2 separate regions of the Homo sapiens genome follow, and region 1 is linked to region 2. The links are contacts of gene promoters, found by promoter capture Hi-C in blood cells and fetal thymus (Javierre and others, 2016). All regions are on one chromosome and are shown on one strand. The core of a region is centred on a gene start or on the middle of the fragment in contact, and the rest is flanking DNA. Distances in the headings are between cores, read along the strand shown.

The links. Contacts are between HindIII fragments. The CHiCAGO score rates a contact against its expected background, and 5 or more counts as called.
Region 1: a contact is called between a fragment that was not itself captured here and the fragment with the promoter of PRICKLE2-AS2 in region 2, in 1 of 17 cell types (megakaryocytes). The highest score is 5.3, in megakaryocytes.

The regions. Positions count from the first base shown.
Region 1 is chr3:64,357,259-64,359,958 of GRCh38, forward strand. No RefSeq gene overlaps it. Among named protein-coding and RNA genes, the nearest start is that of PRICKLE2-DT, 87 kb to the right of the region's middle. The HindIII fragment of the contact is 2,037 bases long and covers 237-2,273 here.
Region 2 is chr3:64,102,091-64,104,790 of GRCh38, forward strand. PRICKLE2-AS2 (PRICKLE2 antisense RNA 2) reads left to right here and starts at 1,380. Exons shown (of 4, transcript NR_046701.1): 1 at 1,380-1,414; 2 at 2,403-2,643. All of the region lies in intron 7 of PRICKLE2 (prickle planar cell polarity protein 2), which reads right to left. It overlaps PRICKLE2-AS1 (PRICKLE2 antisense RNA 1), which reads left to right. Exons shown (of 3, transcript NR_045697.1): 3 at 1-1,041. The HindIII fragment of the contact is 2,788 bases long and covers 229-2,700 here.

The sequences.
Region 1 (2,700 bases), core at 5-2,504, 260 kb after region 2:
TTTGACCTCCAACTATTTGTGGAGCTATTAAAACCTCTTGCAAATATCTAAAAAAAGATCATCTTGAGGTGACTCTGCTTATTCAGGCACCCAACCACAGTTCATGGAAGTCTTACTTATACCAGAAGAAACATGTTAACTCCAGGGCTACTGGCAGAATAAGGCTTGTTTCCTTCTCTTGCAAAGTTGAGAAGATCTCCAGATAACTCATATTGGGCCACAAAATCACTGGAAGAAGCTTGAAGATCACTTTCCAAACCCTTTACATTATAGATGAGAAAACTGAGGCCAAAGCAGCTGAGGGTCACCCAAGGTTAGAACAAGGCCCACATCCCAAATGCACATTTACAGAAACAAGCTCTTTTCATGTGACAGTGATTTCCCCAGGTCCCAGCCAGGTGACATCTACAATCTACAAAATCATGAACTCACCTAACTTTCAGTTTCCAAACCATACTTGTCCAGCAGATCCAAAACAACCACCTGAAACCAGGGTGTGACATTGACAGTTCACTGGAAAAGCACTTTCTTGTTTTTGTCTGTCCATTTTCTTCCCTCTCTTCCTCTCTCTTTCCCCCCAACCCCTTCTTTCTCTCTTTCTCCTTGTCTCCTGCCCTCTCTCTCTCCTTCTTTTCCATCCTTCCTTCCTCTGTTCTTCCCTTGTTTTAAAAATATGTGACCTCACTCCCCAATATAAAACTCATGTGCATAGCCAGTTTTAGCAAATTTGGGGTGTGTGTGTGTGTGTGTGTGTGTGTGTGTGTGTGTGTATACTCACCATGTTTGGAAAATGAATTCCTAGAAATAGAAGGGCTAACTAAGCCACTTATACGGGATCCTTATAGCCCAGGACTTATGGAGATAAAGTTCTGCATCAGCACGCTGGCAACCCTCCTCTGTGTATTCTAAGCCCTCAAAGCCATGTCATTTCTCTAGCTATATTTTCTCATACCCTCCACTTACTTTTCTACACAATGGTTAGTTAATTCTTCCAGCTGTGATGTTTGTGGTGCCCGCAGGATGCTAGGTGACTTGCACCACAGCCCTATCACCACAGCCCTATCACCAGTTGATTTTCATGCTGTTTTCCTGGCCACTTCCTAAAGAGCAGTTTCCTGTGAATTTTGCATTTTTTACATCTATTGTTTATAGATTTCCTTGGCATCTTCACGGCACCTTTAGCACCATTTTTTGCGGCCCTTTCCTGATATCACAGGGCCATAGTGTCATGAGACCATGCAGTAATGGCAGGGGAGAAGGATGGAGAAGTCACAGACTGACAGCATATTCGTACTGTGGAAAGCATAGAAGGGCTGTGCTGAATGCTTATAATTTTATGTTGCCTTGGCATCCATTCTAAATATAAGTTTAACTCTCTCATGCCAGAGACAGAGCTCAGTGTCACTTTTGACAGTTTCCAGTTCTATACCACACCCAAATGGCTCAAGCCAGGAGCCAGAGGTAAGAACTTAGCAGAGATAAGAACTTAGCCCACCTAGCAGACTGGGCTTCCAGCTTTCCCTGCAATTTCCCTTACATGAACCATTTAGGCATGTGCCTGTGAACTTAAAGTGACCCACATCTATTCCCAAATATGTATAGATGGTTGCCACATTGTCTTCTGTCTCCCTGCCTGGGCTCCCTGAACTCCCTGTGTGTGGCGGCCTCCAGGCTTGCTGTGTGCCACCAGGGTCTGTAAGTAATAAAACCTCTTAAACTTTCACATTGCAATTGTGTCATTGAAGCCCTGCAGCCATCAGATCCCCGAGCCCCACCCTGACAGTGAGGCCACCTACAGGGACCCATGCAGGTGGATCTCCTGCTGGTGCACTTTTGTCCAGGCTGCTGGGGATGGTTGCTACCAGCTAAGTCGATAGAGAAACCCAGAGTTTCATTCAAAACAAGGACACGTTAGTCCTCATCAGCTGAAAGACACTCCACTGAGCAGTCATGAGAAAGCAACTCTCAGTGCTGTAATCAATCAATGAACATATAAAAACTAAAATACTTCTAACACAAATAGAGCTACAATAAATCAATGCTGATACATCATTGGCATTTAATCAATATTAATTTTTGAAAAACTGCTGAATAGAGCAGAGTTAAACAAACTAAGTATGCAAGAAATTTTAAAAAAAGGTGGGGGTGGGGAGAGTTTCCACCACCCAGACACAACCATCATTAGAATTTTGGCATATTTTCTTCCTGTATTTTTTAAATGTTTTTAAAATAATAGGAACAAATATACAATTTTCATTTATCAATATATCATAAGCTTTCCCCATTTCATAAAACTCTTTGTAAACATCATTGTTAATCGCTAAATTATTTTGATTAATACTCCAGTCCCCTATTGCTAGACCATTTCATAACCTCACTGCTAAATATTTTTGTTATTTCCAATTCATAATTATGAAAAAATAGCATTGCTATAAATACCTAAGTGATACAGTTTTTTTTTCTTTTTTTTCTTTTTCCTCTTTTTGGATTATTTCCTTATCAAGAATTCCTGGAAATGACAATGTGGAGTCAAAGGGCATGAATATTTTTCAGGTTTTTGATAATGCCTTGCCAGAAATTTTGAACCAATATATACACTCAACATCAAATGTATGAAACTGTCTACTGCCTGTACCTCATCAGCACCGGGCATTGTGGTTACCAAATAAAAAACAAACAAATCTCCCTCCCCGCAAAAGC
Region 2 (2,700 bases), core at 130-2,629:
ATTTGTTATGAAAAAAGGGACTGTAGTCTTAAGACCAGACAAGACTGAGAGAATGTTCTAGATGAAAGGGTACGAGGGAAACATGGCAATTACATATAATACCTGATCCTGGACTGGAACCTGCTCTTTAGGGAAACTAAATGCTATAAAGTAGGGGTTCCCAGACCTCAGGCTACAGACTGGTTAGGAGCAGGGCCACACAGAAGGAGGTGAGTGGTCAGTAAGGGAAGCTTCATCTGCATGTACAGCCACTCCCCATTGCTCCAACTACTGCCTGACCTCTGCCTCCTGACAGATCAGCAGCAGCATTAGACTCTCATAGGAGTGTAAACCCTGTTGTGAACTGCTCATGCAGGATCTAGGTTGTGTGCTCCTTACGAGAATCTCATGCCTGATGATCCATAACTGTCTCCCATTACCCCTAGATGGGACTGTCTAGTTGCAGGAAAACAAGCTCAGGTCTCCCACTGACTCTACCTTAAAGTGAGTTGTGTAATTATTTCAGTATATATTACAATGTAGTAATAATAGAAATAAAGTACATAATAAATGTAATGCACTTGAACCATCCCAAAGCCATCCCCACCCCCTGGCCCCAGTCTGTGGAAAAATTATCTTCCATAAAACCGGTCCCTGGTGCCAAAAAGGTTGGGGACTGCCTCTATAAAGGATAACTTTTGGTCAACTGAAAAAAAAATGGAACATGGGCAATAGATAAAAGTATTATGCTAAATTTACTGTGGTCAATTAATAATGGTGATAATGTGGGAGAAGATCTTTACTCTTGGGAAATATATATGGAAGGATATGGTGGTAAATGGCCCAGATGGATGCAATTTGCTCTCAAATGGTTTATAAATAAAATGTGTGTGTGTGTGCGTGTGTGTGCATGCATGTGAACATGAAAGAACAAATGTGGCAAAAGGTTAACAATGGATCAATCTACGTAAAGAGTACATTACAGGTGTTGTTTGTTCTATTTTTATAACTTTTTTTAAGTCTGAAATTATTTCCAAATAAAAAGTTTCTTTAACATTAGAATATATTCATCTGATATGATGGTTTTTAATTCTGAAGGAAATTTGGAAACATCTGGACACATTTTTGGTTGTCACTATTAGGATGGGATTCTCCTGGCGTCTAGTAGGTAGAGGCCAGAGATGTTGCTAAACATCCTACAGTGTGAAGGATGGCTTCCTTGCCTCCACACAGAATTTTCCAAACCAAACTGTCAACAGTCTCAGAAGAAACCCTGATAAAATGGAATATTACACAATAATGAGAACGAATAACTACACCCAAGAACATGGATGTATCTCATAGAAAATGCTTGGACATGCAAAAAGAATATGTGCTGTATGATTCCATTTATATGAAGTTCAAGAACAGGCTGAGGCTATCTATAGTGATACAGGTCAGGGCAGTGGGAGGAGGGGGTATGAAGAAGGCTTCTAGGGCACTGCAATTGTTCTATAACTAAATCTGGATGGTGGCTGTAAAACAATACACATGTGTAAAAATTCACTGAGATGTAGTTTTAATATTGGTTTGCTTTATTCTGTGTAAATTATATCTCAATAAAATGGAGTAAAAGTAAAGCAACGTTTGGCCAGGTGTGGTGGCTCATGCCTGTAATCCCAGCACTTTGGGAGGCCAAGGAGGGTGGACTGCTTGAGCTCAGGAGTTCAAGACAAACCTGGGCAACATGGTGAAACCCTGTCTCTACTAAAAATACAAAAATTAGCTGGGCATGGTGGTGCGTGCCTGTAGTCCCAGCTACTTGGGAGACTGAGGTGGCAGTATCACCTGAGCCCAGGAGGTGGAGGCTGCAGTGAGCCGAGATTGTGCAACTGTGCTCCAGCCTGGGCAACAGAGCGAGCCCCTGTCTCCAAAAAATAAACAAATAAATAAATAAAAAATAAAACAATGTTTGTTAAAGGGTCAAATTTTAACATTGGATATGCCTATAAAGAAATTAATCAGCTAAATATCATATACTCCAGTAATTTTTTGTTTCAATTTCGTTCCTGGGATAACTGTCAGGGCAATAGCAGCTGGGGCCTCCAATCGCTTGCTTACTCTGCTGCTTATCTCTTACATACAAATCATAAAAGCCGATTTACAACAGCCTAATCACTTCCAGAGCCTCCCCAATATGAAAGCAGAGAGGAGAGGATAACAACCTAAGATGATGAATGAGTGGTTTGAGTGGATGAACTCTAGTAAGAAAGGAAAGAAAACATCTTCAAACTCATGTCTAGAAACAAAAGGTGGACACAATGATCTTTGCAGGGCTTTCCAACCTAGCTCTTGAGTAGAATTAGGGTCAGCATAAATAACTTAGCAAATACTATTAATTCCCCAGCATGCTGTTTTCCCGAACCTGTCTTTCATAAGCCCAGAAGTGAAATGTTTTTGAGAGCATCCTGCTTGTGAACAGATTCCTATTTCCGTGAGGAGGTGACCTCGAAGAAGAGCAGCTTCTATTCTGCTGGGAGGTGTACTGCCTTCTGGTATCAGGCTTCTGCATCCCGGGAAAGCTCGGGATAACCTGAGGCACCCCCTTGAAAAACAAAAGAGCTTGATCAGAGCAGGAGGGTCCTGTTGCACAAGCCCAGCATCTACTATCAGTTTCACCTAAATGTAAGCCATTCATTCCCCTGGACTATGTGTGGGTGGGACTGGAAATACTACCTGCTC